Linked DNA regions of Homo sapiens: regions 2, 3, 4, 5, 6 and 7 are each linked to region 1. The links are contacts of gene promoters, found by promoter capture Hi-C in blood cells and fetal thymus (Javierre and others, 2016). All regions are on one chromosome and are shown on one strand. The core of a region is centred on a gene start or on the middle of the fragment in contact, and the rest is flanking DNA. Distances in the headings are between cores, read along the strand shown. Region 1 holds the start of ABI1 (abl interactor 1). Region 2 has its middle 85 kb from the start of APBB1IP. Region 3 has its middle 58 kb from the start of APBB1IP. Region 4 has its middle 41 kb from the start of APBB1IP. Region 5 has its middle 25 kb from the start of APBB1IP. Region 6 has its middle 8.8 kb from the start of APBB1IP. Region 7 overlaps APBB1IP (amyloid beta precursor protein binding family B member 1 interacting protein).

Region 1 (3,428 bases), core at 612-3,111:
TTATATTTGCAAACCATATCCACATCCCTACTAGATTTTTAAAAGTTTTTCGAAGGGCTAAATATAAAGTTTGCACAAAGTGATACAGTAGATGTGGCAGGCATTCAACAAGTTCACTTATCAGGAGAATTCCTAAAGTGAAAGCTTGAAAAAAAAATTGTGAAGATAAATTCCGAGTAGTGCTACTGAAGATACAATGTTACTAACATGAAAACTGAGAAATATTCAAAACATTCTGAAAACAGCATCTCCCTCTAAAAATAAAGAGGGGAAGCATTTGCCAACACAGAAACATCGGTTCTTAAAAATTATAATCACATGGGAGACATTTCTATAAACAATTTAGTTCTGAATTGCAATAACCCTAACCTTTCAAAGCACGTTTTGGCCTTGCCTTACCAAAAGCAAGAGCATTCCTGGTGCCTTTATATTTATACAAAGGACTGTGCTACTTTGTTTCTAGCGCAAACTGTTGGTTTACACAGTTAAAGATCTTCAAAACAAACTACCACACACAATTCACTTCCAATCATCCAAAGAGAAACGAACAAACAAGCATCTGTCACAAAGTCCCAAGAGTTTTCTAATTTACAATAACAGATATTTTTACGTTGTAGTTCAGAGGCTACCTCTGTTCGTTTCTGTATTTGGATTCACATACTATACATTTACTTAGCTTGTTAAGAGAGAAACCTCAGAAAATAAGCAACCGGCGATGACACCAGTCTATTTTAAGTTACTTATGAAGCCTACAGCTCAAGAACTTTTGGGAGAAGGGAGGGTAAGCCGTTTTTCCAAGGAGTTAAGAACAATTCGTGTTTGATAATTAATGATAGCAGCCCTAACAACCTCTTAGAATACATTATGGTGGGGCGGAAGTGAAAACGATGAGAGGGGGAAAAAAATAAAAAAAACCCGACTTGAAAATGGACAAGCAGACAGATTTACAAACCTTCAATTAAAGGAATTTTAAGATGAACTTCTCTCAAACGCCCTCCCTCACTCCCCACACCCGCTTCCTCCTCTCCTCCGGGAGGTCGGTGTAATGTGACTCATGACAAATTTTTTTTAAATAAATAAATAAATAAAAGACACACCCTCTGGGGGCTGAAACTGACATAATCGCCCCCACCCCACCCTCCGCCGACACACAACACACACCCCGCTGGTCCTCTCCCTTCTGCGGCTTCAGCCTCGTCCCTGCCCTCTCCTCTCCCCTCTCCCGTCCTGGACCTCCTCTCCCGGCGCAGAGAGGCGGCGCGGCGGCAGCTCGGGGGTATTCCGGGACTCCAGCCCTGCGGACTGGAGGCTACCTGGGGGGCGCGCGACCCCGGTGGCCGGGCCCTGGGGGAAGCGGACGCGAGGGGGGCGCCGGGCTGCGGCAGCGGCGGGCTCCCGGCTCCCTCGCCCATTTTCTCTCTCCCCTTCTATCGGTTTCCACCACCACAGCCACTTCCTGTATCGCAGCCCGACTCCCTCAGCCCGGCCACTCGCTCTGTCCCCGGTTGGGGCTGGGGTTGGGGCTGCGGTAGGGGCTCGGGTTGGTGGCAGCCGCTGAGGTCAGGGCAGTTCCCCACCCCGCCCAGTGGGCTGGTCACTCCGGCGGGTCCTCGACCCGGCCAGCGCCCGCCGGCCGCCAGAGCGCCTCACCTGTATGTAGTTGTTTTCACAGTAGTCTGCCACCCGAGTCAGGTTCTGGTAACTCTCGATCAGCGCCCTCTTGCCAGACGGGATCTCCTCCTCTAGTAACATCTGCAGCTCTGCCATTTTCCACCCCTCTGCATCGCTTCCTCTCGCGTTAAAGAGACAGAGGCAGCAAGGTCCGCCGAGGCTCCGAGCACCTCACAGCCCGGATACAAACCGCCTACCCGCCCTCCCGCCTGGTATTGTGGGACGGCACCTCCTCCCCTTCCTCCTCACTCTCTCCAGCCCCCCTCCACCCCCTTCGTGCAGCCGCCTGAACCTCGTTCTCTCGCGAGCGTTTATTTCTCCCACCCCCACGGACCGCGGGATTTTTTTTTTCTTTCGCACTGTCTTCTGGGAATTGTAGTCTCTCCTAGGCTAGGCGGCCCGTCCAAAGCGCATGCGCCCAGACACCTCCGAAAACCAACGCGGCAGAGCGCAGAAAGCGGAGACCGAGGGTGGAGGGAGGGGGCGGTGTTGGGGGGAAGTCCGGAGTTTCCTCACAGCTCCGGAAGGTGGCGCCACAGGGTGATACTGGGGGAATGAAATCGGTTCCCCAAGTTTCATGTGAAACTTGGCAGAACTTGGTTAATTAGGAAATGTCAGTGAATCAAGGACACCCATTCAGAGAAGGATTAAAAAGGGGACAGAGTACGGAAAACTAGATTTTTACTTCCTCTGCCTTCTTAGAAATAAAGCGAGTCAGGCTTTACTTTCTGAAGTTCCGCCCCCATCAATTCATTTAAAATTTAGCAAACATTTCTTGATTGCCAGCTGTTTACCAAGCAGCGTACTAGACACTGGGGGTACAAGTTGAGTACGAATACTCCGTACCCTTAAAGACTCAATTATAAAATAAACATACATAGCTTGTAGTGCTTTCCTGTCCTAATTTCTCTTTTCTCTGACTCTCCTTATCATGTAATCTTCCTACACTTTTAAGGTCATGTGCACGTTTTTTTAGGGGTGGGAGTTGTTTGCTTGTTTGAGACAGGATCTCACTGTTACCCAGCCTGGAGTACAGGGGCACAATCATGGGTCTCTGCAGCCTAGACCTCCTAAAGTCAAGCGATCCTCCTGCCTCAGCCTCCAGAGTAACTGGGACTACAAGCGTCGGTCACTACACCTGGCTGAGCTTTTTAATTTTTTATAGCGACAGGGATCAAATTATGTTGCCCTCGCTCGTCTCGAACCCCTGGCCTCAAGCAATCCTTCTGCCTCAACCTCCCAAACTGCTAGGATTACAATCATGAGCCACCCACCCTGATCCTTCGTTTTTTGCTCCTGGATTTTTGTTTTGTTTTGTTTTTATCACCTGCTTTGGAATAGTCTCAAAAGGCCCTATATTTCAAGCTCTTCACTTCAACAGGAACATTAAATGCTTCGGATATAATCAGCTATGAAAAGTGTTGTCCAAAGACTTTGGACATATGTTCATGTATCTCCATAAAGTCATTTAGAATCAAAATAACTAGGAGTAAAAACATCACTCAACCAAATTAAAAATTGCCAGCACCAGGTATTTATTGAATATTGCCTTTACTGGGGCCTTATTCAGGGCCCCAGGGAACCAGTTTCCCTCTTCGACCTCTGAAAGGAAAAACTCAGTTTCCTACTAAAAACGTTAACTTCCCCTTGCCACCAGATTCTCCATCAAGGAATCTATCAAAAGATAACTATTATACCTATTCCAGATATTATGGAAAGTAATACATTTATTATCTGGAATAGGTGTAATAGTTATC
Region 2 (3,428 bases), core at 261-2,760, 510 kb before region 1:
ATAGTTGTTATATTGTATTGTTTTATTTTTTTAATTATTGTATTGATTGTTATTCTTATTAGGTTTCTTTCCTAAATATTTTCTATGTGTATTTCATGAAATCTGTGGATTTGGAGGGCTGACTGTTATAACTAAGGTAGTTTTAAAATTTCAGCTAATTCAGTATCATCTGATAGGCATGTTCTTTTCTTTTATCAGATTACTTGTAGAAATACTATAATTTAAACAGAAATGTGGCTTTCTACAGTAGTCACAGAAGGCTCAGCGCTCTTCCAAAAAAAAAAATTAGGTTTAGAATAAAAACATTTTTATAAATCAGGAAGCCAAAAAGCACAAGGTTATTGACTACATCTGTCTTTAGTAACAGATGGTAGTACTAATTGTTATTCAGGAGTGACATATTGTTTTAATTTCTCAGGGGTAAAATATGAAAGTAAATGTGCATAGATTTTTAGCTTTGAAAATTTTATGACTCCCTTAAAACAATTCAGAAATAAGAAATAAAATGTGTTGTCTTTTTTGGGGGGAAATGATGTGGCCTTTTTTAAGGAGAAGCATTTTTAGAAAGGATCAGAAAATATCCCAACTTAGAAAAACTCATTTGAAATTAAGTTGTATATTTGCATTTGAATGAGGTGCTATTTCTGTTCATTTTGATAAAATCAGCATTCTGCTTCCAGTAATATTCAGAGATTTGTGTCAGGCCTCTGAGCCCAAGCTAAGCCATCATATTCCCTGTGACCTGCACGTATACATCCAGATGGCCTGAAGCAACTGAAGACTCACAAAAGAAGTGAAAATGGCTGATTCCTGCCTTAACTGATGACATTCCACCATTGTGATTTGTTCCTGCGCCACCTTAACTGATTGATTAACCTTGTGAAATTCCTTCTTCTGGCTCAGAAGCTCCCCAACTGAGCACCTGGTGACCCCCGCCCCTGCCCACAAGAGAAAAACCCCCTTTGACTGTAATTTTCCACTACCCACCCAAATCCTATAAAATTGCCCCACCCCTATCTTCCTTGCTGACTCTCTTTTTGGACTCAGCCTGCCTGCACCCAGGTGATTAAAAAGCTTTATTGCTTATACAAAGCCTGTTTGGTGGTCTCTTCACATGGACGCACATGACAATTTGACTATCAAACTTTCATTGCAAGTCATGGTGATGAAGAAGTTCTGCACTCACCATTCCAGAAGATTCAGAACAGATCCCTTGTTCAGGGGTTCCTTTAGTGCAGATAGGGATTTTATTAATTGTTGGAAAGATAAAGCATCTCCTTCTACCTGTGGCAGCTGGATCATTCTCACTACACAGAGCTAGAAATTTAAATAAATAAAGGAGAGTAAGATGGAGGTGTGCATGGACATTTAATGGTTCATCAGACTGAATGCTAACAGTATATAGCTGTATGTTTTACAAGGAGGAACTCCAGAGTTTTGAACTCGATGCTTGCCAAACTTAAGCATAATCTTTGAAAGAACAGCTTTGAAATCTCCAGTTACATATTCAAATTCTCTTCCGTCTTGTCCATTGGACACCCACCTACATAGTCTGCTTTAGGATGGAATTTTCTGCCCATCACACTCCAAAATATTTCATCCTCTGCTGTGTCCTTCCAAGGTGCAGGTAAATTTACCATTAGAGGGCTACTCTTTCGGATTAAGCATTGTGCTTCGCAGGGGACCTCTTTGAAAGTGTCATTTTTTCTGAGAGAGGTCATATAGAACATCACTGGCATCTGCACCTGTAAGGATTTATCAAATAGCTGTGTAGAGTGTGGAGTAACAAGAGGGAGAAGAAGAGGCCGAAAATGAAAGAGAGAGAGAGAGAGAGAGAGAGAGAGAGAGAGAGAGAGAGAGATGCTGTTCGTCAGCCCAGCATGAATTCAGTGATTATGCTGATGTTTCCCTCAGTGAAATACCTCTAACAACTAACAAAACTGTTGCAAGCTTGGCTCCTGCTTTGTTAGACTTATTTAAATCACAAAACTACCCCAATCAGATAGCCTCTTTGATTTGAATTATGTTGTATCCAAAGGCTACATTAAATGAAGCCACATTAAATGAAGTCATTTCCATGACCTTCACTACACAACTACATGAAGAACACAAATAGCCTGTAATTTGCAACTCAATCACAATCCCGTTCTCATTTTCCAAACTGACACAGAGCCAATTTGTAAAATGTATAGACACTTAGCGCAGTACCTGGCAGTGCTATTTGAATAAGCACTTGGCATCAGAATGAAACTGGCTTTATCAATTCTTTTTTCTCCCCAGAATTTGTGATTAGAGAGCCAGAAAGAGAAGGATAGGGATCCCACAAGGCTGGGATTGGGAGATGTAATTGGAGAAGGTAGGGTGGCCTGTTCTGCCTTTTGAACTCAAGAAGCAAGAGAAAAAGTCAGACTACTGAGAGAGAAAGGAGGACGCAGTGGTTATACAGAGAGAGTCTAGACAGCTTGACAGTTCCTAGCTCCAGTTCCTTACTAAGTCTGACTTCACTTCTAATCCTGGGGTATAGGAGACCCCTTGTGTCCACATAGTAAATTCCCTTCTGCTACCTGTTTACTTTTGCTTTCAGTCAACCTAAATGGAATTCTGTTGCTCGACAGAGTTGCAATTAATATGGTTCTTGGGATGGTTCTGCAGACACACCCTAATCTGTAACTGTACCATGTCAGGGAGGATTTCCAAGAAGGCTTCCAACAGAGGCTACCTTGTTTTAATTAAAGGTCAAGATGCATTTCAGAAGAATGCCCTGCATACCACTGAGAAGATCAAGAAGTTAGCCACTCCTATCATCAGTATATCAACAGCATAAGAAGCAGTCAAATGGGATTGTCCTCTGAAGACATAAAACATAAAATCAGTACACAGTGGATCAGAATAAATACACACCAAAGCATCATTTATAAAAAATTGGCCTGGTTCGTATGCCAACAATTTGATTATAACATGACTGAATGTATTGAATGCAATAACATCTGGAGAGAAACTGTGTCCATCAGATTTGGGAACTGCTTGGCCCTGGGAATTTAGAAAAATGTAAATTATACCACCATCACCCCCAACTTCCATTAGTGACAGAGATCTAGAAATCCATTCTGGTTTTCCTCCAGGGATGCTGACCCCTCCTCATTAAAGGACCAAGAGTCCCCTTTTGATTCGTAAGAATCTTAGGGAAGGAGCTCAGGGAGCTGAGGCTGACTCAGACTCAGTCTTAACTCAGTGGATCAACAGCAGCAGAGATGCCTTGGCAGTGTATACGAGGCTGGTCTGCAGGAGTCATATGTGAACTGGAGAATCTGGTTGGCCCCAAGCCTTCATGATGATGGCAGTGCTGGGGCAGTAGTCTCCTTGACGACAGCTTATCTTTGAGCTTCCCTTCTCCCCACACCTCTCTTGAGGATGTGCCCAGGGAAGTC
Region 3 (3,428 bases), core at 556-3,055, 480 kb before region 1:
AGTTTATAAAAAGCCTTATCATTTTTATTAATATCATAGTTAACTGAACAAGTGAGAAGTATCCACATGTCTTACAGCTAAAGTGTTCTTATGAGCTTTGCTTAAACAAATACAAGTAGATGTTGGCTTGACTCAAAGTTAGGTGTACATAATTTCTGTGGCATTTATTTAGTAACTTTTTTTTGTTCAGTAAATGTAAGAAAGTCCTGAATTTACTGTACTAGTTGAAGTTAGAGCTTATGTTTAATCCAAATCTCTTTAGCTGTAATTCTCAGGAAATAAGACTATATTTTGTATAGGTTTTTTTAAAAAGACTGGTCTTCTTTTTATGGAGTTGATCCCACTGACAATGACTCAAATATATTTCAAAAGCCCAGTCCTATTAAGTGTTGATTTCACAATATGTAAACACTGGGTAGTGCTCTTTCGGGAGAATTCAAAATATTTCAGTAGGGTTTTACTAGTTTCCAAGGACATTGGGTAGCAATCCGTATAATAGACATGCTAGTCCCATGTCTTGAGCAAACTGATAGGTTCTTCCAAGAACACAACCAGGAAAACCAGTGATCATGGTGCAGCTGTGAGTCTCAAAAGAAGAAAGAAGACTTACATCATCTTCCAGGCTTCCCTTGGGCATCTGACCACATTTGCTGCGCAATTGCAACTGGCTGGATATCATCATGAGCCAACTGATTTAAGGCAATGTTAACTATATTACGCTAGTGGATCAGCTATGTTAACAACACCGTTTGCAGCAAACCTAACATACTTCTAAGCAAATCAACCAGAACAGACCAGATGTGTCTGTTTCTCTTGAGATTTAAGTAGATAAGTAGATTGAAACACAATAATTTGTCAGGACATAGTCCAGTAGGTAATTCTGTCCTGGAAACAGTGGCTAAAAGAGTCATAGAAATTGCTGATGGGATCCAGAGGAGATTAAACATGCTCACGTCAGAGCTGTCTCCAAAACAGCACACAAGACACTCGGCAGGGGAGAGAATCTCAACGTCCATCAGCTCTCTGGCCTGGACCCCAAACTGGTCCAAAAGTAGAGAGTACTGTGGCTGAGTAATTGATACCTGATTGCATACATTCATCAGTTTTACATTTGTACCATTCTTGCTGATATAAGAGATCAAGGGAAACCCTTCATGGCCACCAGAGGCACCCATGGAATAGAAAATCTGGTTAAAAACAAACTTGTTATTGGTAAGCTTCCATGAACCACACGGCCCTCCCAACATGGAATAGGCTGGTCATGTGTGGATAAGATATGGTTCATTTTAAACTAGGATGACAGTTACTGACACTGCATTGCTGTTGAAATCTGTGCATTCGTGGCCACTGCTCTATGTCATGAGACATCCAAAACAAGCTGAATAGGTATGTGAAGATCATACCAATGGTAGTCTTTGCTTTGGCTGCAAAGCTGATGAGGACTTCTGAGGCTTACTTTGAGGACATGACCAGGCCTCACTTGGGCAAGCTGCTGACACCAGTGCTCCAAGAGTACCTCCTCCTAGGGGGCTCATTCCCAGCTCCACTGAGCTCAGATACTTCCGCACTGTAATTTGAATTTAAGGAGAACTAGAGAGAGTTTCTGCAGTTGTGTTTTACAGCATAATTGAGGTCAGCCCATAGTAAACAGCATTGCCTGAATGCCATCCTCACTGGATGCTACAGAACCAGCTTCCTCTCCTTTTACTTTGAGTTTTAGCCCAGGATAGGTTTAAGCAGAAGAAGACCTGGCTGAGGGTCACTCAACATCTGCAGCCCAGGTCTTGGCAAGCTGATTTCCACCAGGTTCTGAACAAGCCATGCCTGACAAGTCTGGCATTCTTGCACTTCTTTATTGAAGAAATAGCCACCACCACCCAATCCCAGTATAGCATCTTTCTCAGCAACACCCAGGCACTGGAAGCCACCTATTTAGAAAGGAAATAATATGCATAGCATCTATACTTTTAAATAACTTTTGAGAAAATAGTTCATAGTTAGATTAAAAGATTTACTACCATTTATGTGAGAGGAAATAAAATATTTAAAAGAACAAGTGGTCTATAAACAACCTTGCTTGCAGAAAGTATTAAAATATATTAGAAAAAAAGAAGAATTTAGATAGAAGGCGTAAAGAAGTCGTAGGGTTTGGAAGAGTTGGAGATTATATTTCTGCAAGCAAATCCAGACAGAGAAAAGTTAAGAAAAACCTACCAGGACTTGAATACTGCGCTTTTTTCTGTTGTTGATAAGAAAAAAGTGCTTGAGAAAACTGATGGTGCCAAGTCACAATGTTGTGCTGGCTTCTGCTCTGCTTTCTCGGAGAATTTCCAGGGAATCATTACTCTGCATCCGGTGGGAAGGGGTGGGGGTAACATCCCTAGGCCTATCTGAAAGCTTCCTCTTAGCTACACAGCATGTATAAGTGAGATAATACAAAGCCTTTTTAGCTTAGTCACTGAAAATGCGCTTGCCAATTCAAGGTAAAAATGGTCACTTCCAGTTTGAAACTTTGGGTAAATACTCAGTCACTTCAAAACAATCCCCCTCCCTCCCTCCTCCTCCTCTTTCACTGTCTTTTCTTCCCAGGGATGATATAAGTTCCTGAGGGACCTGGCTGGCCCCGATGCCTAGACATCCCTCTAGGTCAGATCACTAGAATGACGTTAAAGTTGTAGTCTAACATCAGAAGAGAATAAATGTAGATTTGAAGCCCTGCCAGACAGAAACAGTTCATTCATATTCTACAGATATTTATCAGGTACCTCCCACATACCAGATGCTGACTGGGTACTGGACTCCACAGTGATTAAAATAGATAAAAACCTGCCTTCATTGAGCTTTCATTCTAGTGGGAGGGAAAGCAGAAAGTAAATAACATGAGAAAATACTTAATTTTCTCAATCAAGTTATCTTATATTAAACACAACTTGACTAATTGTAACCAAGCCATTTTCATTGTTGCCACCAGATAGCTCATGACAGACAGACACTGAGCCCAAATGCCATTATTACTACTAATCCACCAAGGCCCTTCTCCTCTGAGTCCACATACTACCTAAGGATCCTTCTTAGCACAATTCTCCAGGTATTTCTTACCAATAAGGACAGTCATCCAAGAAATAATAGTATTCTTTTGATATCCAGAATATAGCTCAAACTAGGTGCTATGGTCTTAATGCTTGTGTTACCCCAACATTTTCATGTTGATACCTAATCCCCAGTGCAATAATATTAAGAAGTGGGACTTTGGGGAGGTGATTAGATCATAAGAGTTCCACCCTTGTGAATGGGATTAGTGCCCTTATCAAAAAGTCTTAAAGGAACTTGTTTGCCCCTTCCTTCTGCCTTGCTAGGACACAGCTCAGAAGGTGCCATCTTTGAAGCAGAGAGGGAGCCCTCACCAGACACCAAATCTGCTACTGCCT
Region 4 (3,428 bases), core at 637-3,136, 460 kb before region 1:
CCTTGGCATGAGATGACAAACCTCAGGTGTATACCCCAGACAACAACACTGCTTCACCTTGATCTTGGACTTCCCATCCTCCAGAGTTATAAGCAATAGAAATTTCTGTTGTTTATAAATTACCCAGTCTATGGTATTTTGTTATACAGCCAAACAAAGACAATTAGGAACAAGAAAAAGAGTCAATATTTTCTCCTTTTTTGGATTATAATTATGTAATAACCACCGTTTATTAAACAGCAATTATGTACCAACTATTTTACATAACTTTCCTTCAAGTCAGACTGTAGCCTTATGATGCTATCATTTGTTGTGTGTGTGTGTGTGTGTGTGTGTGTTTTCTTTCGAGATGGAGTCTCACTCTGTCACCCAGGCTGGAGTGCAGTGGCGCAGTGGCTCGGTCTTGGCTCACTGCAAGCTCTGCCTCCTGGGTTCACGCCATTCTGCTGCCTCAGCTTCCCAAGTAGCTGGGACTACAGGCGCCCACCACCACACCTGGCTAATTTTTAAAAATATTTTTAGTAGAGATGGGGTTTCACCGTGTTAACCAGGATGGTCTCGATCGTGACCTTGTGATCCGCCTGCCTCCCAAAGTGCTGGGATTATAGGCGTGAGCCACTGCACCCGGCCATTTATTGTGTATTATGCTTCCTATGTGCAGGGCACTGTGCTAATTTATATATAGTATACTATCTGACTTTTTCAGAATAATAGCTTTAGCAGACAGCTATTATTATCCCTACTTTGTAAAGAAAATGAACTTTCAATTAATAATTTGTCCAAACACCTATTATGTGGAAGTTCTGGAACTCAAACCCTGATCTGTCTGAATCTGAACTCAGTTCTATCAGGATCTAAAGTCTGAATTTTTTCTAGAATATCATCCTTTCTCTCAATGTTGCCTAATTTTTAGTTGCTTAGGAGGGTTATAAATAAATATCCAGCTTACACTACATTTGCTTTATCCTTTGAGGAAAATTTTTTAAAAAGCTGCTACTTGCTAAACACCGTGCTCTGTCACCTGAGGCCAGAATGAGGAAATGTAGTGGAGGCAAACTATGTCCTTCTGTAAGTTGGGAGCAGAGTAAATGTAGATTGATGTTCAATGTAGATTCTATCTTAACTATTCTGTGTTTTCATTTAATCTGTTATTGTACTGCCCAGTTTACAAATTACACCGTAATTTAGTTTGTCACACACCTTTGTAATATAAGTGTGAATTACCCATTCAGGGCTACTAAGAACCTCAACAAGATCTCATAACTTGAGCCAGGTTACAGTTGGCAGAGCTGATTCCAAACTGGACTTCAGGCACCAAAACCTGGGTCTTCTTCACCAGTTAGAATGGTGATCATTAAATAGTCAGGAAACAACAGGTGCTGGAGAGGATGTGGAGAAATAGGAACAATTTTACACTGTTGGTCGGACTGTAAACTAGTTCAACCATTGTGGAAGACAGTGTGGCGATTCCTCAAGGATCTACAAGTAGAAATACCATTTGACCCAGCCATCCCATTACTGAGTATATACCCAAAGGATTATACATCATGCTGCTATGAAGACACATGCACACGTATGTTTATAGCGGCACTATTCACAATAGCAAAGACTTGGAAACAACCCAAATGTCCATCAGTGATAAAATGGATTAAGAAAATGTCGCACATATACACCATGGAATACTATGCAGCCATAAAAAAGGATGAGTTCATGTCCTTTGTAGGGACATGGATGAAGATGGAAACCATCATTCTGAGCAAACTATCCCAAGGACAGAACACCAAACACTGCAAGTTCTCACTCATAGGTAGGAATTGAAAAATGAGAACACTTGGACACAGGGTGGGGAACATCACACACTGGGGCCTGTCGTGGGGTAGGGGGAGGGGAGAGGGATAACATTAGGAGATATACCTAACGTAAATTATGAGTTAATCGGTACAGCCAACCAACATGGCACATGCATACCTATGTAACAAACCTGCACGTTGTGCACATGTACCCTAGAACTTAAAGTATATTAAAAAAAAAACAAAACACCTGGGTCTTCTTATTCTAATTCCCTGCTTACTGATATCACTTCTTATCATTTCCTCTTATTTATACTGGGTTTTTTTCCTGTACTGAAAAATCACCAAGCTCTGAATTATCCTGAAAGCTACTCTTTCAGATTCTTTTTTTCTTTTCCCTTTTTCTTTTTTCTTTCTTTCTTTTTTTTTCTGTGGCAGAGTCTGGCTCCATTGCCCAGGCTGGAGTGCAGTGGAATGATCTTGGCTCACTGCAACCTCTGCCTCCCAGATTCAAATGATTCTCCTGTCTCAGCCTCCCGAGTAGCTGGGATTACAGGTGCCTGCCACCACACCCTGCTAATTTGTGTATTTTTAGTAGAGATGGGGTTTTACCATGTTGGCCAGGCTGGTCTTGAACTCCTGACCTCAGTTGATCTGCCTGACTCGGCCTCCCAAAGTGTTGGGATTACAGGCATGAGCCACCGTGCCCCACCCTCATTCAGATTCTGATTCAAATAACATTTATTTAACACCTCTGAGACCCCATGCCAAATATTCTTGTGTGCATTCTTATCCCTACCTTATGATAACCATTTAAGGTAAGTATTATTCATCTTATAAACTATTAGTTCTCACAAAATAAGAATCCTTTCAAAATAAGAATCCTTGGCCTCCAGGACTTTACAGTGTAGGAGGCTGACAGTAAAAGCCATGCTGATTAGAGGTGATGATATTCCCTTGGGACGCACCAAGTGTCTGTGCCGTCTCTCAACCTGTCAGCTCCCTCTTCTCTTTACTTCATCCTGCAAACCCCATCAGCCATCATGTCTGCATCACTCCTCCTGAAATTCTCAAATCCCTCAGCCCTCCGTCCTCTCCATGAGCCCCTAAGCAAATGCACCCCCGGGGCTGCAGAGCACACAGCCACTCACACAGGTGCCAGTCATCATTCAGTTTCCACATCCACTGGACCCTTCTTTTTTTTTTTTTTTATACTTTAAGTTCTAGGGTACATGTGCACAACGTGTAGGTTTGTTACATATGTATACATATGCCATGTTGGTGTGCTGCACCCATTAACTCGTCATTTACTTTAGGTATACCTCCTAATGCTATCCCTCCCCACTCCCCCAACCCCATGACAGGCCCTGGTGTGTGATGTTCTCCTTCCTGTGTCCAAGTGTTCTCACTGTTCAATTCCCACCTATGAGTGGGAACATATGGTGTTTGGTTTCTTGTCCTTGCGATAGTTAATGGAATACTATGCAGCCATAAAAAAGGATGTGCTCATGTCATTTGTAGGGACATGGATGAAGCTGGAAACCATCATTCTCAGCAAACTATCACAACCACTGGGCCCTTCTAAGTCCCCACTCCCAGTTTTCTATGTGGTTCTCCACAGCAGCTTTTTGAAACCTC
Region 5 (3,428 bases), core at 346-2,845, 450 kb before region 1:
CATCTCTGGATTGTTGTGACCACTGAGCAAGAGCAACCAGGATTCCCAGGAGAAAGTGAAAGATTGGCATAAAGGAAGTGTTACAGAATTAAGGATTGAAAATATCGTTTTGTAAATAAAAGGATCTTCCCTCTGGAAAGAGTAGACTGTATTTTGGGGTGTCATTATTTAGCAAGTATTTGGGTACCTACTAAGTGTTTTATATAGATGTGTTATCTCAGCTAATCTTTGTAGTTACCATATACTAAAAGTGTAAATAGGTCAGGTACGGTGGCTTACACCTATAATCCCAGCACTTTGGGAGACCGAGCAAGGAGGATCACTTGAGCCCAGGAGTTTGAGACAAGCCTGAGCAACAAGGTGAGACTCCATCTCTACAAAAAAATTTAAAGATTGGCTGGGCATGGTGGTGTGTATCTGTGGTCCCAGCTACTTGGAAGGGTGAAGTGGGAAGATCGCTTGAGCCCAGGAGGTGGAGGCTGCAGTGAGCTATATTTGCACCACTACATTCCAGTGCAGTGCTGTGGGTGACAGAGCAAGACCTAGTCTCAGACAATAAAATAATGTGCAAATAACAATGTAACACTCTAATGTAGGTTATACCTTATTCTATTTAGTGACTTTCCTTTCAGTTTACGTGATAAATTACTTCAACTGAATGTTATAGTAACACATGTTGTTGAGTTCTGCTTAGATAGAAAGCATCACATACCAAGAGGCTATAATATCACATTTATTTCATCATTTACCCACATTTGACAAGAATGGCTCTTTAAAGATAATGACTTTTTAGCTACAAACTAGAATCATTAAGTTCACTTGCCAAAGAAGAGAGAACATTTACTTTCAAGATGTCAGTCAAGATCCTTTAGCACAGATCTAAACATATAGATGCAATGAATAACAAGCCAAGTACATGAGACTCGCAGCTTCACTGTGCAAAGACTCTGTTAACTTGCATATATAGGAGCTGCTTTTCCTTGCTTCATGGTTGCTTCCAGTACAATTCAAAAGAAACATACTCTGCCACCCAAACACCTTGACAAGTGACATAGATCTTTCCTGAAGATTTCTTGTGGACATCCAGGGAAAGATAACACAGCAGGGCTGTCCCAGTAAATCTGGGGACCCAAGATCTTAGCTTGTAAGATTCAAAAGTCAAGATCCAGGTGTCAGATACAAGTTATCTGCAAGTATATATAATCAAGATTAGAAAATTCTTGTCCCTTAAGCTTAAAAAATGAAGTTCCCTGGGTATATTAGATAGCAGTCGTGTTTGTGTGTAACAGAGATCTTAAAATTAGAGATTTAATCACACAAGGGTTGATTCCCTCACATACAAACAATCTACAAGTAGCTAGTCCAGGGCTAATGAGGCTATTCCACAGAGCCTTCAAATGCCCAGGCATCTTCCACTTTGCTGCTCTGATGTCCAAAGCTTCTAAATTCAAGGTCATCTCATGGTCCAAGAGGGCAATAATTGGGCTTGCATTCCAACCAGCGGGAAAGAGGATATGAAAAAAGGCACACTTCAAGGGCACTTCCTGAAAGTTCCAAATAATACTTTCACTTATCTCTCTTTGGGCCAAAATTTATTGACATGGTTGCAAGTAGCTACAAGGGAGGCTGGGATACAGACCTGCTAGCTGGACACATTATCCAAGATTCTGTGTTAAGGAAGAAGACAATGGATTTGAAATATATGCAATTGAGCAGAATTCATTTTTCCCACCTATACGTTCAGCCTCCAATCAAAGCTTGGGATGGGAGGAGAGCCTTTGAGAGAAGAGGAGCAGAAAGGGAAGTTGGCATGGATTTCCCAGCCTTTTGGCCAAGTCTGCAGGGATCAGAGTTCTGAGTCAGGTAGACTCATACCCTGATGCTCATCTGGATGCCCTTGGAGGATGCCAGTGTCCCCCACACCCTCACAGCTGGTAAATATAGTTGCATGGCAAACTGAAGCCAGTGGGCTGGAAAATGCCATTCACAGTCCCCAAGCCCCAACATGACGTGGAAAGCCCCAGCATGACGTGTTTCTCCTGTGTGTCTAGAATAATGAAGAAAAGACACTGAGAGCTGAAATCAAGGCACTTAGAGGTGCTAAGACCAAGGAGGTTTGCTGGGATTAACTTCATAAGATTCAAATGAAAGAGAATTATATCACCATGAAAGATAGTCTGAAAAAATTTGATTAAGATCCCTTTTGAAAGTATAACAGAAATAACTTAGAATCAGTTGGGGTTTTAAAAAAATGAAAGCTGAAATGATGGAGAACTGTTGACAGAAACGAGGATTTTACTAAATATAATCTCATTGACTAATTGTAAATGTGGCTCCAGGAGAGAACAACAATATGGTTTCATTGAGAACAAATTACAATTAAAAAGTGGAGAAATATTTCTATATGGGTCTAGCTAAAAAGTTAAATTTTTAGTAATGAATTATTTTATACTTTTACCTGAAGTTGTAGGATATAAAACTGAATAAAGCAAACCAAATTAGAAGTAGCTGAGGTAGCTTTTGTAGGATCTGCTTGGTCATTCAATTACACCAACACCTTCTAATATCATTTATGGTTAACATTGAAAATATCTACTACCACATATTTTTCTGTGCTTGAAATTCATTTTTTCATATGGAGTTTTCCACTTTGACCAGATTCCTTCTTTAATCTTGGCAAAGATGGGAGGGAATGAAGAAGGAGAGGGTGGGAGGAAGGAGAGAAGGTAGGGAGAGAGGAGAGGAAGGCAGAGAAATAGACTAAAGGTTAGAGGGTAGAAGGGAATTCTAGACTAACGTAAACAAGAGAAAAGTTTCTCATTTAAAGTGTATGTCTGGGCCAGGTGTGGTGGCTCACACCAGTAATTCCAGCACTTTGAGAAGACGAGGTAGGTGGATCACCTGAGGTCAGGAGTTAGAGGCCAGCCTGACTAACATGGTAAAACCCCATCTCTACTGAAAATACAAAATTAGCTGGGCATGGTGGCAGGCGCCTGTAATCCCAGCTACCTGGGAGACTGAGGCAGGAGAATCACTTGAACCTGGGAGATGGAGGTTGCAGTGAGCCAAGATCGCACCATTGCACTCCAGCCTGGGCAACACAGCGAGACTCCATCTCTAAATAAATAAATAAAGTGTATTTCTGGCTGGGCACAATGGCTGACGCCTGTAATCCCAGGACTTTCGGAAGCTGAAACAGGAGGATTTCTTGAGCGCAGGAGTTCAAAATCAGCCTGGGCAACATAGCAAGACCCCATCTCTATAACATAAATAAATAAAATGTGTTTCTACCTGGTGTGGTGGCTCATGTCTATAATCTCAGTGCTCTGGGAGGCTGACGTGGGAGGATCATTTTAGGCCAAGAGTTTGAGACCAGCCTGGGCAACATAGTGAGATCCCAGCTCAACAAAACATTAGAATAATTAGTT
Region 6 (3,428 bases), core at 334-2,833, 430 kb before region 1:
TATGTGTTAATTAACTCCTTATGTTATCGGTAAGGCTTCTGATCAACAGTAGGCTATTAGCAGTGGAGATTTTGGGGAGTCAAGAGTTATACGTGGAATTTTCAACTGCGCAGAGGTCAGTTCACCTAACCCCTGCCCTGTTCAAGCATCAAATGTATATCTCAGAGTTTCACGAATTTCATGCTTATTTAGTACCCTGACTAACACTGGGCCCCCTCCCAAGGGCATAGCCCCTGTGCAGTGTCAGTGCAAAGAAACCAGCAGCCAATTTAATTTCAGACCAAGTCCACATTTCTTAAAACCCCCTTCCTCCTTTTCTTCTCAACTCCACCCTTCTCATATCCTGCAGTTTCCCTCAAACCTTTTTCTCCTTGCCTTGCTCTTAGCTTCCCACCAAAGATTCTCTCCTAAGCCTTCTTGAACTCTCTCATGTCTTCTTCACTCCTCTCTTTCTGCTGCTGGTCTTCATCCTTTCCTTTCTGGTTCTCCTCCTGCTGAGTACCACTGGAGTGTAGGAGAGAAGGGAGTTGGCTTCAAACAAAGGCCAGGGACCAGTAGCAGGTAAGGAGGCAGGTAGAGGGAGGATCTTGTTAACAGGCAAGAGAAAATATATTCACTATATGTGACATATATAATTAGTAAAAATATACTAATTATATATACCTGTTATGGTTAAAATAGAAATCATGAGCAGAGTTATTTTTCATTGCCAGTTTATAATATTTAAAAAGTTAAAGCATTGAAACTTGACTGTGACAGAAAAAATGAGAAGCACAGATACCCAAGATGGTGTCTTGGGTGTTTACTGCTGTGAAGAAACCAACACTTAGAGCAGGGGTCCCCAAGCCCCAGGCCATGGACTGGTACCAGTCCGTGGCCTCTTAAGAACCAGGCCACACAGTAGGAGGTGAGCAGTGGATAAGCAAGTGAAGCTTCATTTGTATTTACAGCTGCCCCTCATCACTCGCTGTATTAGTCCATTTTCATGCTGCCATTAAGAAATACCTGAGACGGGTAATTTATAAAGAAAAAGAGGTTTAATGGACTCGCAGTTCCACATGGCTGGGGAAGCCTCACGATCATGGCAGAAGGGAAAAGAAGAGCAAAGGCACGTCTCACACGGTGGCAGGCAAGAGAGCGTCTGCAGGGGAGCTGCCCTTTATAAAACCATCAGATCTCGTGAGACTTATTCACTATCATGAGAAAACAGCACAGGAAAGACCCACCTGCATGATTCAATTACCTTCTACCAGGTCCCTCCCATGACATGTGGGGATTGTGGGAGCTACAATTCAAGATGAGATTTGGGTGGGGACACAGCCAAACCATATCACTTGCATTACTGCCTGAGTTCCACCTCCTGTCAGATCAGCAGCAGCATTAGATTCTCATACGAGCACAAACCCTCTTGTGAACTGTGCATGTGAGGGATCTAGGTTGTGAGCTCCTAATGAGAATCTAATGTCTGATGATCTGTCACTGTCTCTCATCACCCCCAGATGGGACCATCTAGTTGCAGGAAAACAAGCCCAGGGCTCCCACTGATTCTACATTATGGTGAGTTGTATAATTATTTCATTATATATTACAATGTAATAATAATAAAAATAAAATGCACAATCAATGTAATGCATTCGAATCATCCTGAAACCATCCCCCCCACCAATCTGTGGAAAAATTGTCTTCCACGAACCCAGTCCCTGGTGCCATGAACTTAGTCCCTGGGAGACCATTGACTTAGAGGCTTAAGACAGCCATTTATCATCATCTTTCAGGGATATGAGGCTCAGCGCAGTGGTTCTCCCTTGGTCTCTCAAGCAGTTGTATTTAGAGGACAGCTGGCGCTGGAATCATCTGAAGTTTTCCTGGGTCTGGGCAGTGAAAATGGTGTCTTCACTTCACATCTGATGCCTCCATGCCCCACCATGTGGCTTCATTGCCGACACAGTAGCCAGGACTTCTTCATGACTGCTCAAGGACAGAAGAGGCAGGATTTAAGTACTATGTTCACCATCACTTCTGTTCTATTCTATGTGTCAAAGTACATTCAAGGGAGAGGGAGAGAAATGGATCCTACCTCTTAATGGGGAAGGAAGATATGGCCATGACTAGCTTTGGAAAATACAGTCTACTACAGATGGCATAAAAGTTAGATTTTTAAAAATAAGCTAGATATTTAAATCAGAAACTAATATCCCCTACAATTGAGGGCAAGTCAAATAAAATAAATAGACAAAGCTTTATAAAATGCTAAACTAAAGAAAATTACCTGTGAAAAAAAAGAATGACAGAAAGAAAAAGAAAAAGCTAGCAGGATTCTGACTTCAAGTCAACCCGGGTCCCCTTACAGAAGGTGAAAGTACTTTGGTCAGGAAGAGATTGGCCAGAATACATGTTGGATTTGATGGGCTTGCCAACAGAGTGAGGTAGTGAGACACAGTCAAATCCAACTCAGTGTAAACTGAGTTTCTTTACAGTTCTATAACACACATCTTTTAGCCACTAACCATCTTCTTCCGAAATACCTGAGGAATTCTGCTTTTATTTTCTTGAGACAGAGTCTTGTTGTGTCACACAGGCTGGAGTGCAGTGGCACAATCTCGGCTCACTGCAATCTCCGCCTCCCCAGCTCAAGGGATTCTCCTGCCTCAGCCTCCTGAGTAGCTGGGATTACAGGCATGCGCCACCATGCCTGGCTAATTTTTGTATTTTTAGTAGAGACGGGGTTTCACCGTGTTGGCAAGGCTGGTCTCAAACTCCTGACCTCAAGTGATCTGGCTGTCTTGGCCTCCCAAAGTGCTGGGATTACAGACGTGAGCCACTGCTTCTGACTGAAGTCTGTTTTCATTGGTCACTGTCCAAAGAGAATGCCACCTGGGGGGGTTTTCCCCCACACCATCGTCTCCATGATGGGCTGTTCTTCTGTGTTCATGGCCCCATGGGTCATTCTCTTCCCCACCTCCCAAACTCTTTCTTGCCACTCCTGTATCTTGAAGCTATTTCTGGAGTGTTCTGCTAACCTCAGGCTTTAACTGTGCCCTGAGGGCACCATTTCCACTGCAGCTTTCTCAAAAGAAAGTGGTTTATTCTCTTAAATTCCAGCCACCTTAAGTTCGGAAGGTGAGTTTATGGTTCTCTATGCTCCTCACTGCTACTTGCAAATCATAAATGACTAATCTTTTTATTAAAAACAAAACTAAAAGCAAGCGAAAAAAGCTTTCTCTTTTGAGGCTCATGCCACTTGACTAAACAATCCAGTTCTGCTTTCTCATTTCAAAACCTTGACACGTGACTCCCTGTCACCCTTTAAGATGACCTGAAGTCCTGTCATCATTCTGTTTGCCTGGGACAGTCATGAATTATAACTGTTTCTGTCTTTTTTTTTTTTTTAGATTATTGTCTCTGTCTTTATTTTTTAAATACTTATT
Region 7 (3,428 bases), core at 671-3,170, 400 kb before region 1:
CACTGCTCTACTTGTTTTTTGGCTCAAGACCCACCTTTGGAATCAATGAGGTATTTTTTCCACGTTATTTAAGGCAAGGGTTCTTGCTGATTGTAGACTGGGGGTGATTATGGCAGCCCATTGTTGACAGGGAAGTCAAATGGCCCATAGCATTTTTAAAAAATGTTTACTTTAAGGTCTGGGATACATGTGCAGAATGTGCAGGTTTGTTACATATGTATGCATGTGCCATGGTGGTTTGCTGCACCTATCAACCCATCATCTAGGTTTTAAGCCCCACATGCATTAGGTATTTGTCCTAATGTTCCCCGCCACTTGCCCCCAACCCCGGACAGGCCCTGGTGTGTGATATTCCCTTCCCTGTGTCTATGTGTTCTCATTATTCAACTCCCACTTATGAGTGAGAACAGGACCATAACATTTTAAATAGTGATTCCTCTGGTTGGTTGTCCCTGGATTCCCATCCTTGCTGACCTGGAGCTTGGGTGTCTGTCTTGGCTCTGTCTTCAGCAGCCCTCCTCTAGATCCATACTGGACTCCACATTTTTTGCTTTAGTTACTCAGTATCTACAGTCCCTTCTCTGTAGCATCTTCCAGAAGTTTCTCAACATTTTGATCTACTCATACCATCCTTCCATGCTTTCCAGACTGTTATAAAGTCATTTCATTGGAATTTTAGGAGACAGTATATAGTCACCCCCACTATTTGGAACTAGTTTTCAGTACATTTTAAATGTATTAATACCCACCTATATGCAAACACCGCTATGTACCAGTTGCTGTGCCCAGGCCTGACTGTGCTCATTTAGTCCTCGTGACAAATTTATTTTATTTTATTTTTTGAGACAAGGTCCCACTCTGTTACCCAGGCTGGAGTGCAGTGGCACAATCATGGTCCATTGCAGCCTCAGATTCCCAGGCTCAAGTGATCCTCCCACCTCAACCTGCTAAGTAGCTGGGACCACAGGAACACGATACCATGCCCAACTAATTATTATTACTTGTATGTGTGTGTGGAGACAGGTTCTTGTTGTGTTGCCCAGGCTGGTCTCAAACTCCTGGCCTCAAGAGATCCTCCCACCTTAGGTTCCCAAAGTTCTGGGATTACAGGCGTGAGCCACCATGCCCAGACCATAATAATTTTATGAATTTTCCCAGCCCTGTTTTACAGATGAAAAAACTGAGGCTGAACCAAGTTAAGTAAGTTACTCAACATCATGCAGTAGTTAGCATTGAACCTGAGTTTGACTCATTCAGTTACCACATTCACACCTAATAAGTTTTCTGATGATACAGCAGGGCCCCAACAGGTACCATCTGAAGGACAAACAGGGATAAATCCAAGTTCCTTATTCTCTGTTTTTATTTTATTGATATATGAATTAAATAGAGAATTCACTTTTGTGGTCTAAGCAAAACCAACAGAGAACTCTGGGGCATTCTCTGTTTGCAAAGACATTATTTCCATTTTAGACATGTGCTTTCTCGCACAGCTGTAAGAGAGAAATGAAAAATACAGTAGCTGCAGACCAGGCGTGATTCCCATGTAGACTGTGCAGAGAAAACTATGATTAAATTAAAAGGCTGTCATTTTCCATATATGAAAAAACTACCCATAGGAAAGTGTGTGTCAGTATTCATCAAAAAGAAATTGAAGAAATTCATGTAGAGCATAAAATGTGATCAGATGTCCACTGAATTGACAGGCACCCTTCATTGCTTCATGAATGTGCTCAGATCTTAACTAGTTTGCTGTTTGTGACACTCTGTAGACAGGTACATGTCTAGCTAGTTGACATATTCAAGGACACAAATTTCTATTTTTTTCGTGACAAACATCTCATCATTATGGCAAAAGAAAATAAATTAGTAATAATGCTGACATTTTATATATTATGTGTCATAATGATATAATAATTACTCATTGTAATTAATAATAAATTAATGATTTTTGCACCTTCTGATGGGTAGATACAATGCTCAAATTCTCCATAGAAAAGATATTTACATTTTTAAAGAAAAAATTATAATTATGTCATTATTAATTGTTAATGTTCATCACTTAGTAATTATCATTTTTAGGTGACTAAAGACTGACATTTTGGGCATGTTTAAGCACTGAATTTTGACATAAACATGTCATTCACCAGATGTGTGTCCTTGTGTGATACCTATCTTCTCAGAGCCTTCATTTCTTCACTTGCACAATGAGGATAATATATTTTGCAGAGAAGTGGAAAGGATGAGAGGCATAACCTCTAAAGCATAATATATTGCCAGATGCAGGTGCCCTGGAAATGGTAGGTATTAGGATAATTTGTTACACTTATCAATTTCTGCTCAACGAACCACCCCAAACTTAGAGGTGTAAAGCAGACCATTTTATTATGGCTGCAGGTTCTGTGGGTCAGGAATTCCGACAGTCCACAGCAGGGCTAGCTTGTATCAGCTCCATGATGTCTGTGACCTCAGCTGGGAAGACTTGAGCAGTTGGGGGTGACCCAAAAAGCAGGAAACTGGGCTCATCTGGAGGGTTTTTCACTCTCTTTCCTGGTCCCTGGGCTGAGCTAGGACTGGCAGTGATGAGATCCCCTTCTACAGCCCCTCCGGGTGTCCTGGGCTTCTACTATCGAGGCAGCTGGGCTTCCAGAAGGAATGTCTGGAGAATGAATATTCTGAGAGGCCCAGATAGGTGGCTTTTGATGGGGGGACTTCCAGAGTCACATGGTGGCATCCACCACAGCCATCACAAGGCTGGTCAAGTTCAAGGCGATGGGACACAGACCCCACTTCTTAATGGGAGAAGTGTCAAAGAATAGGAGGCCCATCACCATCATTATCATTACACTGTGAGTATGTTTCTTGAATATGAGTAAAGAAAGAAAGTTTTTCATCATCCAACAGGAATTAAGTGAATATTTGCTTCAAGAAGTTATCCAGTTGGCTGGATACAGTGGCTCACACCTATAATCCCAGCACTTTGGGTGGCCGAGGTGGGAAGATCACTTGAGGCCAGGAGGTCAAGACCAGCCTGCGCAACATAGCAAGAACTCGGCCCCACAAAAAATTTAAAGATTAGCCAGGCATGGTGGTACATACCTGTAGTCCCAGCTACTCAGGAGGCTGAAATGGGAGGATTGCTTGAGGCCAGTGGGTGGAGCCCAGCTTGGGCAACGTAGTGAGACCTCGTCCCTACAAAAAATTTAAAAATTAGCCAGGCATGGTGGCGCATACCTGTAGCCCCAGCTACTCAGGATACTGAAGTGGGAAGATTGCTTGAGCCCAGGAGTTTGAAGCTGCATTGAGTTATGATCACACCACTGCATTCCAGCCTGGATGACAGAGCAAGACCCTATGGAAAAAAAAAAAATTATGTAGTTGTCCAGGGCAGGAACATTAATAGTGAGAATGAGTTTGATTCCCTAATA

The links. Contacts are between HindIII fragments. The CHiCAGO score rates a contact against its expected background, and 5 or more counts as called.
Region 2: a contact is called between a fragment that was not itself captured here and the fragment with the promoter of ABI1 in region 1, in 1 of 17 cell types (neutrophils). The highest score is 5.1, in neutrophils.
Region 3: a contact is called between a fragment that was not itself captured here and the fragment with the promoter of ABI1 in region 1, in 3 of 17 cell types (monocytes, M0 macrophages and M2 macrophages). The highest score is 9.6, in monocytes.
Region 4: a fragment that was not itself captured here is called in contact with the fragment with the promoter of ABI1 in region 1 in 1 of 17 cell types (activated CD4 T cells); the score reaches 5.6 in activated CD4 T cells.
Region 5: a fragment that was not itself captured here is called in contact with the fragment with the promoter of ABI1 in region 1 in 1 of 17 cell types (M2 macrophages); the score reaches 6.8 in M2 macrophages.
Region 6: a contact is called between a fragment that was not itself captured here and the fragment with the promoter of ABI1 in region 1, in 7 of 17 cell types (neutrophils, naive CD8 T cells, monocytes and 4 more). The highest score is 9.0, in neutrophils.
Region 7: a contact is called between a fragment that was not itself captured here and the fragment with the promoter of ABI1 in region 1, in 4 of 17 cell types (total CD8 T cells, fetal thymus, total B cells and 1 more). The highest score is 7.5, in total CD8 T cells.

What each region holds. Positions count from the first base shown.
Region 1 is chr10:26,859,097-26,862,524 of GRCh38, forward strand. It overlaps ABI1 (abl interactor 1), which reads right to left and starts at 1,862. Exons shown (of 11, transcript NM_001012750.3): 1 at 1,651-1,862. The coding sequence starts at 1,767. RefSeq lists silencers at 1,235-1,384, 1,495-1,584 and an enhancer at 1,905-2,104. The HindIII fragment of the contact is 3,622 bases long and covers 143-3,428 here.
Region 2 is chr10:26,351,732-26,355,159 of GRCh38, forward strand. No RefSeq gene overlaps it. Among named protein-coding and RNA genes, the nearest start is that of APBB1IP, 85 kb to the right of the region's middle. The HindIII fragment of the contact is 876 bases long and covers 1,073-1,948 here.
Region 3 is chr10:26,378,547-26,381,974 of GRCh38, forward strand. No RefSeq gene overlaps it. Among named protein-coding and RNA genes, the nearest start is that of APBB1IP, 58 kb to the right of the region's middle. The HindIII fragment of the contact is 1,180 bases long and covers 1,216-2,395 here.
Region 4 is chr10:26,395,288-26,398,715 of GRCh38, forward strand. No RefSeq gene overlaps it. Among named protein-coding and RNA genes, the nearest start is that of APBB1IP, 41 kb to the right of the region's middle. The HindIII fragment of the contact is 4,604 bases long and covers 1-3,428 here.
Region 5 is chr10:26,411,609-26,415,036 of GRCh38, forward strand. No RefSeq gene overlaps it. Among named protein-coding and RNA genes, the nearest start is that of APBB1IP, 25 kb to the right of the region's middle. The HindIII fragment of the contact is 319 bases long and covers 1,437-1,755 here.
Region 6 is chr10:26,427,816-26,431,243 of GRCh38, forward strand. No RefSeq gene overlaps it. Among named protein-coding and RNA genes, the nearest start is that of APBB1IP, 8.8 kb to the right of the region's middle. RefSeq lists an enhancer at 2,862-3,211. The HindIII fragment of the contact is 1,306 bases long and covers 931-2,236 here.
Region 7 is chr10:26,463,577-26,467,004 of GRCh38, forward strand. The region is part of intron 2 of APBB1IP (amyloid beta precursor protein binding family B member 1 interacting protein); the gene reads left to right. Among named protein-coding and RNA genes, the nearest start is that of APBB1IP, 27 kb to the left of the region's middle. RefSeq lists a silencer at 1,528-1,577. The HindIII fragment of the contact is 3,863 bases long and covers 1-3,428 here.